2 separate regions of the Homo sapiens genome follow, and region 2 is linked to region 1. The links are contacts of gene promoters, found by promoter capture Hi-C in blood cells and fetal thymus (Javierre and others, 2016). All regions are on one chromosome and are shown on one strand. Each heading gives the region's core, a stretch centred on a gene start or on the middle of the fragment in contact. The rest is flanking DNA. Distances are from core to core; before and after follow the strand shown.

Region 1 (5,163 bases), core at 1,757-4,256:
TGCTGCTCGGCTCAGGTCGGGTCCGTACGCTTCCCGAGGTGCGTACTACGCGAGCCACACACATCACTACCGATATTCCTGAGAAAGTCGGTGCCACAGTAAGTCAGCTGCAAGCGTGGGGTGGCCGGTGACGCGCTGTGCCCGTGAATACGCCCATTGTGCGGGTCAGACGCAGCCAGGGCGCAGCGTTCAGGAGGCGGGTGGGCAGCCGAACTTTCACTGGCCACGAGCGCTTCACCTTCTAGAATTTGCCAGGGACTAGGCATCAACTCCCAGTGAGAAAATCACATGTGAAGTTGGAAGACACATGCTGCCCTTCACTTTTCTACGGAGTTCACATCAGTTTCAGCAATCCGCGTTCTCAGTTCGCTTTGCCCGGGCGAGTGGGTTCCATCATCACCTGAACCAAAAACGCACCAGGGCGCGCGTGCCCAGGCACCAAGGCCAGAGAAACCGCACGTTTCGAGTCCCCAGTTGCTGAGAAACAATCACAGCCCTCCTCTTTTCTCCCCCTTCTGCAGGTTCCGACCTGAATCTGAAAGTGCTTCTAAACCCCATGCTTCACAGAACGTTCGGAGGGGGAGGCGCTCCGTGGGGGCTGCTGCGTGCCCATGTAGCCGAACTGACTCGAATAAAAGCGTGTCCACGTCTACATCACACATCTGTGTAAATGCAGAAGCCTGCGGATGCGCGGGGCTGGCCAGACTTCACAGTGTGCAGACACATGGGCTCATGCACGCGCACGCGCGCGCTCACACACACACCCCAAATTACCTCCGGGATGGAGAAAGCCGCTGCGGATTGGCCAGCAGAGCCGTCACTCACGCCCAGGGGGCAGGGAGACTTCGCAAAGCTGTTTCCTTTTTTTTTTTTCCTCCTCTCCTCCCTACCGTTTCATTTAATGGTAAAACAACAGCAGAGCTCTGAAAGTTAGCCATCTGCGCAGAGTTTGCCTTCTTTAAGGAGGGAGGCGTCAGACGATATCCATTTAAATATATTTTGTACTTCCACAAAGGATGGAAAGGGAAATTCACGAAGGGAGTGGAGGCGGAAAGGGAGCTCCGAGAAAGAAGGAGGGGTCATTCCGCGGGGGGCGGGGGGGGGGGCGGGGGCCGACGCAGGGGAAAGAGTTGCTCTCTACACCGAAAAGGGACTTTGACCTTCCATTGATCTCGAAATTCAAAAACGTTTCTTCACAGGTCAGATTGTAACAAACACTCGTTCCTAATTTATGAACTCGCCGTTTTGATTTTATTATTTAAGCATGCGCCAGCAATCGTGTTTCCTTAAGAAAGAACTGACCTATTTTTGGCTGGAGATAAACGATCATGTTAACAGATGTTAATCTTGTAATCTGTTTTTCCTGTAAGCACTTTACCTAGCCGGGTTTCAGACCTTAAAAATAACATCTTTTCCAAAAAGACCTGACGTCACAATTCACTCCCTGAAAAATCACACTCCCCCTCCAGTTTCTTCCCCTGCAATGATTTCAAAGACATTAAATCTTTTCCACTTTATAAATGCTGATCTGTTCTGCCTCTACTCCCACAGGCTCTTATTTGCATTTCAAATTCCACAGGTTACACCAGTCGCCTTTTCAAAAAATGTAAACCAACAATGCAGCAGCAAATGGCTTTTTGTGCATCTGGATTAAATAAAGCACAGAATGAATATATTTAAAAAGAGGGCTGCGCAAGTTGATCTTTGCACACCCGGAGACCCGGTGACTCTTTATCAGCGGAATGAGTAAGACACACACACAGCCCCCAGAGCTCCCGGTCTGCTGCGGGAAGCTTATTAACGCTGATAATAGATGAGGCTGACTTACAGACCCACATTTTTCGGGTAAAAGGCTGGTTCCCTCTGGTCCCTAATTGCGGGGGTCCACTGGCTTTCCTCACCACACACATAAACTGCTGCTTTTAAATACCCCACTCGGCTGCCATTTAACAAACTTATTCATACAAAGTTTCGTTAAAACTTGAGGCGGTTTAATCTAAATACTGATCGTAACTATTCAGTCTGTTAGTTCTCCCTGGAAATGGCAGCGGAGGCGCCTCCCCCCACCTCCCGCCCAACCACACACACCCCACCGCATTCTTCCTTCATACACCCGGGTTCATCTCGCCACCGAGGCCTCCCCCACCCGCACCCGGCGGGGCGCAGCTCCGAGGAGTCCCTGCCCACCCCTCTCCGAGTCGGTGCCAGACCCTCGCCCCCACCCCCACCCCCGCCCGAACTTCCCTTCCAGGACCTCTCACTTCTTTAACGTTAGGGTCACTTAGAAGCTCCCAGCAGACTGGCAAGCAGCCGGGGAGGGGGCCGTAAAAAACAAGGCCACCCCCACCTCCACGCAAACACGTCCCCTAGGCAGCAGCGCGCGGTGCCCACAGGCATCGATCCCATCCGCCAAACCCTTAATAATTGAAGCGGCTCCTCGGGCCCGCAGCCCCATCACCCACCTTCATTAGCCGGAGCGTTTTACTTTAAAGTAAGGCAATTTGCTCTTTGTCTCCTAATGGATGGAGAGCGCATCCGAGCTCCCCTCCTCCCGCGTCGCCTTTGACAAAGTGTACAAAGCCAGAGCCTCTTCCGCGCTCCCACCCCGGCCCCCACCCCGCCCCTCCACTGCGGTAAAAACCACCTCCCGGGCGCTCGCCCCGCCGCCCGAAGTTGCATCTTCCCCTATCCTGGAATTGACGAGCAGAGCAACTACCCACCGGGAAAGCCAAGTAGCCCTCCCCGCGCCCGGGGGGCCCCTCCCCGGCGCACCCCCCTCCCCAGCGCCTCCCCCCCTACCCCCAGCGGCGCACACCAGAGTACGGGGCACGTCGGGGCTCCGGGCCCCGCGCCCACCGCCCGCCCGCGGCCCCTGCGGCGCAGCCCTCCCCCCGCCCGCGGCCCCTACCTTGGCAGGGAGGCGGCGGGCCTGGGGAGGAGGACGCGCACGCCCCGCGCATCTGAAGGTGAAGCCGAGCGCCCGCGGCGCGGAGCCGAGCGCTGCACTAGACCGACCGCGCCAGCTGCGCCCGGGCGCGGGGGACGCGCGAGGGCGCGCGGGGCCCGCCACGCGCCCGGCCCCCTCCTCGCGCCGCCCGCGCGCGCCCCGGACGCGTCCGCCCCGCGGGGGCCCCGGCGCGAGCCGGGCTCGGGGGGCTGCGCGGCACGGGGAGGGGGCCGGGCGCTCACGGCCCGGCGCAGGCCGGAGGCTTCCCCCAGCCTGGAAATGGTCTGCCCTGTAGGAAACGCACACTCCACTATTGTCTCATCAGCACAAAGTTCTGCCACACTGAGGGGACAGTCTGGAGGCTTGCAGTGACTCAGACACAGCCAATTCCTCCCCTAATAGCACTGAATCACGGTTCCAGCGGCCAGTGGTCGCCCCTCGTCAAGGTCTAAGGCTGCTGCAGCCCCGGCTCCCGGAGGCCGTTTCCGCGCGCACACGCGCATCCATACGTACAGACGTGCTCGGGATGCGGGTCCCGCCGGCGGGTACCTGGGCACTGCGCCCCATCTGGACTGAAATGGGGACACCCCTTCGGGGGTCCCAGGTGCGTGTGCATTACACACGGCGTAGCGTGTGCGTGTCACTCAACTTCCTGGTAAATGCCTCTGGGGGTGTTCAGATGCAGGATCAATACATTAAGTCCTGAATCAAGGGTCACAGAGGTCCCGCTGGAAAGACTTCAAACAGCGGCTCTGCCACCCGGCCATTTAAAAATGAAGGGGTTGTTTACCGGTAGCCTCGAAAGTTCAACTCTTATTTTTCTGTTCTTAAAACTTCATTTCTTCACCTCACCTACTCCCCACGAGCAGTAGTTAGTTGTAATAAGTTGAGTCTGGGACTAGAAATCCTAATTTGACTCCAAAACGCTCTCCTGTTACAGGGCAGGGATGGCCGGGGTGGGGGAGGGGAGGGCGGGCGCGCGGGGGCGGGGGAGGGGCGGGTCGGAGCTAGCGAGGGCGAGCGCCCCTTCACGGCCGGTGACGTAGACCCGGGGAGCTGCGGCCTGCGGAGGGGTAACACTATCTTCTCCCACCAGGCTCCTGGCCGTATTGTTCTCCTTCTCCTCGTGATAACTCCGCAGTGGAGGTGGATTCCGTCCAAGACGCCCAACGTGGCTCCGCGTAGCAATCAGCGCTGCAATCCTGGCGGTTACCTCAGCGGCGGCGTCTCTCTCTGCGCCTCACACTCGCAGCCCGCGGCCCTCCCCAACTTAGGGCGTTTACAAAAGAAACTACTCCAGACGCGCTGCAAAGGGAGGCGCATGTGCCCGAAAGCTGGCGATCAGACGGGGGGGGCATTCTGCATGTGTGATGTTTCTGGGGGCGGTGGGGAGTGTGTGTCGGGGTCGGGGGGCGGGGGGGAGTCAGGCAGAAAGACAGGGACAACCTCCGCTATGAAGGATCCGCGAGTCCTCAAATGTAAGCTCCGTGTGACTAACGACCTGCACTGATTTGGAGAGCGGGCATGTTAAAGGTCACGGACAATTGTTGCTGGCTTCAGCATGAATGCCTAAGTGGGATGTATTCTTCAGCAATCACGTTTAAGTCTGATTCACCGAAAAGTATTGACGTGCCCACCATTCATTTCAGTACACTGTGAAAATGCACAAAGAAAGTATCCCCAAATTCAGTTAATTACAAAGCCGTAAATGTCCTTGTATACACATATTATTACATACATGTAGGTAACAACAAAGATTAAAATTTGAAGACACTTTAATAGCTTTTTGGTAGGATTTTGGAATGAATATCAGTCCTGTAAACCTACGTTCATCTGCATTCTTGGGTCTATTTTAAAGTACAAACTTGCGCTAACAATTTCCATGTGTTGAAAATGGACAAGGTAGATCATTGAATGGTGATCAAGACTTCCAAACCCCTCCACATAAAACTGTTCATGACTTGCTTCCTTTTTCTAGCCGGTTTAGGGCCCTGTCTTAAGTCACCCACATGTGATTTCACTCAGGGCATTGTCTGTCTACAATAATATTGTGCTTTTAAACCATTTCCTTTCTTACACGTTTATCTACAGTGCATGCGAAATCTGAGAGCGTAATTTGATGGATGGGCAAAGAGTTAAGTCCTGGTGTCTGGTGTGGCAGACCTAGAAAATGGCAGCTGGAGGGCCAGCATCATTTTGTTACTGACAATTGAAAC
Region 2 (4,545 bases), core at 55-2,554, 2.1 Mb before region 1:
TGCCGTCAAGCCAGATAGCTATTTCCTTTTGTTTGATATGTGCAGATACCACAGGAGTGATAGTGTTAAATTTAGGTTAATTCCACTTTGATTTTCTCGTCTTATTCTTACCTTATCTGTTTTATCTCCTTTGTGGCTTTAGGCCTGTTTCACTCAGAGACGTCACGTTATGGCTTGTGCTGTTTCTAGGGCACTAGGTAAGCACCCACATCCTTTTGAACATGCGAAGCTAATACATATGTAACAAACTTGCACGTTGTGCACATGTACCCTAAAACTTAAAGTATAATTAAAAAAAAAAAAAGTAAATAGTCAAGCCAGAAAAGCCTAACAGGAACCTGCCAGATACCTTCACCCCAGTACCGCTCATTAAAGGGGGATGACTTAATGGGAGGACCCTGTACACTTCCAGGGAATCCCAATAACATATTTAACTGAGAAATGATAGTTTTAAGTAACTGAAGCCACAAAAACAGATCTGTTTTCTCAATGATGAATATTTGAGCAACTACTTGAGCTGGGATAAGTGGCTTCTCAGGAACCTCATGAGCCCCCAACAGAATTCAGGGCGGTTATTAAAAAAGAAAGACAAATGGATGCTGGGAGATGCCCAATGTTGACTGCGAACTGTGATCCAGGAATGCTGATCTTCTCAACCTGTAACTACAAATTAAGTGGTCATATTTCCACTAAAATAGGCTTTCATTCATTTGTCAAATAGATGTTAAGCACTCAATAAGTGCCAGAAAGTGTGCAAGGGGACAGATACACAATGTGATATACAAGACGAGACCCAGCTGCTGGGGAAGACAGACAATTAAAGAAATCACGAGCATAGGTTAAATGCCACCACAAAGGAAGTACAATGAGCTAGAACGGAAGCGTATAGCAGGACCCAGCCTTCCAGAAAGAAGAGAAATTCCATGGGTGGGAATTAGCAGGGTGAATTGGAAATAAAAGAGTGGTCAGGCAAGGAAAATGTGTGTGAGATGACCCAGAGAAGACCATGAGAGCTTTAAGGAACTAGAGACATCAGTAAGGCTGAAGTGCAAGGAGAAAGTAGTGGTGAGAGGTGCAGCTGACAAGAAAGAACTGGGAATTTGGGGTTGGAGATGACTTAAGATAGGGGGATCAGGAGGCTGTGACAGCAGGACAGAGGGAAGGAAACTGATTAAGAGTTATTTAGGAAGTACAATTGACAGGATTTACTATTAACTGAATATGGTAAAAGCTTAGATGACTGACCTTAGACTTCTCTTTGCCAATAAAAGCATGAAATGCTATAATCCTCAAATCACTGCTTTAGCTATATCTCACAATTTTGACATGTTATATTTTCATTTTCATTCAGTTTGAAATACTTTCCAATTTCCATTTAGAAGCTTATTAATTTCCAAATATTTGTGGCTTTTCCATATATTATACCTTTCTCTTATTGCTATTTAGTTTTATTCCACTGTGGTTACTATTTTAAATTTATGTAAGCTTATTTTATAGCCTAATGTATGATCTGGTATAGCGAATGTTTTACAAGCACTTATGAAAAATATGTGTTCTGCTGTTGTTGAGTAAAGCCATCTATACATGTCAGTGAGGTCAATTGATTAATACTGTGTTCGAGTCTTCTATATCCTTACTGATTTTTTATCTACTTGTTCTATAAATTATTCAGAAATTAGTTTGATTCCCTTGAGGTTTACTTATAAGCTTTTTGGGGCCTAGAGTAGCCTTTATTCCAGGACTGATTTGACTCCTCTTCTAAGTCATGGCCTTTCTGGGGCTTGTTCTAAATGCCCCATATATTCAGTGAGGTCTCTCTCTCTGGCTGGAGGGAACTTGAGTGATTTTTGGCTTTGCAATTTTAGGGAATTGTTCATTTTAGAACTCCTCACCAGGTGCAGTGGCTCATGCCTGTAATCCCAGTGCTTTGGGAGGCCGAGGCTGGCAGATCACTTGAGGCCAGGAGTTTGAGACCAGCCTGGCCAGCATGGTGAGACTTCATCTCTACTAAAAATATAAAAATTAGCTGGGTGTGGTGGTGGGTGCCTGTAATCCCAGCTACTCAAAAGGATAAGGCATGAGAATCACTTGAACATGGGAGGTGGAGGTTGCAATGAGCTGAGATCATGCCACTGCACTCCAGCCTGGGCGACAGAGTGAGTGAGACTCCATCTCAAAAAAAAAAAAAAAAAGAACTCCTCATAATTACTCTTTCACCAGAAGCTTTTCTTATCTGGCCTTATATTTCTATAGACTTCTGTTTTAAAAAGATTCCATGAACTCATGTGCAGATTTCCGGAGTACTTTTATCTGTGTAGCCCCTTCCCTTGAGAACTCTGCCTCACAGGTTCTTCACAGAGCCGCCTGGCCTTCCCCATCTCTGACCTCTGTCTCTGCAGCTCTGTGAAGCTGCCTCACTTTTTTGGAGTTCTCCCTCCCTGGACTGTAGCCCAGGACTTATCTCTAGGCAGAAAGGCCAGCTGATGGTAGGGCTTACCTTGTCTTCTTCCTTTTTCTCAGGAATCACAGTCTTGTTTTGCCCTATATCCAAATAGTGGCTTTCTATATTTTATCCTTTTTTTATAGTTGCTTACAGAGGGAGGGAGATCACAGGCCGTCTTACTCCCTCATGGCCAGAAGCATGAGATCACTAGCAGATCATTAATGAGATCCAGAGACGATGGAGAAAGCAATGAGTCATGCGCAGTTTTGAGGTTACTGCCATGGGCAAGCAGGTGGATGATGGTCCCATTCACGGAGATGGCAAAATCCAGGGTGATAAACATGGGTAGGGGAGGGCATGAAAGAACTTCATGGGTTTACTGTTGTGTATGTTGGATCTGAGTCACTTGCAAGTCATTAAAGAAGCGAGTAAGCAGTGGAGGTTACAGAACAGCTCCCTCACGAGCTTCCACCTCCTTCTCTTCATTCCACTCTGGGCTGCAGTTGCCATGGACTAGTGACCCCTTCCCAGGGTAATCAGCAGTGGTTATAACCACTTATTTTAGAAGAAAAATTTATTTGTGAAATTTAGTTGGGATAATCCAGCCCCACAGTCTTCCAAATTATTAGGGTGCATGGCCCAGCATTGGTACATTTCCCAAAGGCTGGATTGTCCTTTCTAAACAACACAACAGATGAAACACCAGTAACCTAGTGCAAGTAGCACGGCCCCAAGCCCAGTTCATTCCTTCCCTTTTGCAAGCTGCACGGTCCCAAGCCCAGTTCATTCCTTCCTTTTTGCATAGCACGGCCCCAAGCCCAGTTCATTCCTTCCCTTTTGTAAGTTGCACAGCCCCAAGCCCAGTTCATTCCTTCCCTTTGTTTTTCCCCCGACCTGACCTTAACTTACTTTTCCTCCTGTCTTTCTCTTTTTCCTTTACAATGATCTCTCCCCCACTGCAGAGAAGTGAAGAGAAGGCCAAGCTGTCAGGGTTTCCTACAGCATGGGGAACTTCTCTAGGGACCGCCTGTGAGGAGATATGCACCAACTCCACAAAAATAAGCAATAAAATATTTGCACATTGTGGTCTATAGCCATATTTGGGAAAGAAAATTATTCTAAAAAATTATTCTAAAGAAACACAATCTGCAGCAATGTAACTCTGACACCGTAATCACAACCTTTACATTATTATCCAAAGGGGTTAGCTCCTTGGAGCCTAAGCCACATTATATCTTCTTCCTGGAGGAGGTTCATTCCCCACTGGGGTGATTTCCAAGAAGAAAGAAGGCCTCAAAAATAAATTCAAGTTTCTATCCCTTAGGAGGCAGGAAATCGCAGGAACTTTAAATTTACAACGTTTAAATATTATCTCTTCATTAAGGACGTGTGTGTGTGTGTGTGTGTGTGTGTGTGTGTGTGTGCGCGCGCGCGCATATATGTACCATTTATATATAAATAAAACCAGCCGGGAGCAGTGGCACTTTGGGAGGCTGAGGGGGGCGGATCACCTGAAGTCAGGAGTTCGAGACCAGCCTGGTCACCATGGTGAAACCCTGTCTCTACTAAAAATAAAATAAAATAAATAAAAATACATAAAAAAATTAAAAAAATTAGCTGGGTGTGGTGGTGTGTGCCTGCAGGTCCCAGCTACTTGGTAGGATGAGGCAGAAGAATCACTTGAACCTGGGAGGCAGAGGTTGCAGTGAGCCAAGATCATGCCACTGCACTCCAGCCTGGGTGACAGAGTGAGTCTCTGTCTCAAAAAAAATAAATAAATAAAGTAAAACCTTGGGATCTGGTCTCAACTTGCATTTTATTACTATTGTTTGATAAGGAAGAGAATCCTGTATTGGGAGCACTGGCTAGAAAATGTGGATTTTGCTTTGTTTTCTATAAGTGGCTACAGCATAAAAATAACCTCTGAATCTCGATGAGTATCTATTGATATCTAATGCCAGCTCCTTTTTCTAAGTATAATGGTCCCTGGAAAGTGTTGTTCAACTTCATTGTTACAACACTGGAATTCTAGTAACTTTGGAGACACTGTGGTGGTTTCTGCTGTTGCAGAAGAGTTAGAATATGATTTAATTGGGTGAGAG

The links. Contacts are between HindIII fragments. The CHiCAGO score rates a contact against its expected background, and 5 or more counts as called.
Region 2: a fragment that was not itself captured here is called in contact with the fragment with the promoter of ZNF516 in region 1 in 1 of 17 cell types (naive CD8 T cells); the score reaches 6.1 in naive CD8 T cells.

Annotation. Positions count from the first base shown.
Region 1 is chr18:76,492,236-76,497,398 of GRCh38, forward strand. ZNF516 (zinc finger protein 516) reads right to left here and starts at 3,007. Exons shown (of 7, transcript NM_014643.4): 1 at 2,909-3,007. It overlaps ZNF516-DT (ZNF516 divergent transcript), which reads left to right and starts at 3,104. Exons shown (of 2, transcript NR_164145.1): 1 at 3,104-3,551; 2 at 4,044-5,163. ZNF516-AS1 (ZNF516 antisense RNA 1) reads left to right here. Exons shown (of 2, transcript NR_136504.1): 2 at 522-1,683. RefSeq lists enhancers at 69-118, 799-938 and silencers at 2,037-2,126, 2,827-2,926, 3,057-3,116. The HindIII fragment of the contact is 7,170 bases long and covers 1,792-5,163 here.
Region 2 is chr18:74,373,469-74,378,013 of GRCh38, forward strand. No RefSeq gene overlaps it. Among named protein-coding and RNA genes, the nearest start is that of LINC01922, 34 kb to the right of the region's middle. The HindIII fragment of the contact is 151 bases long and covers 1,230-1,380 here.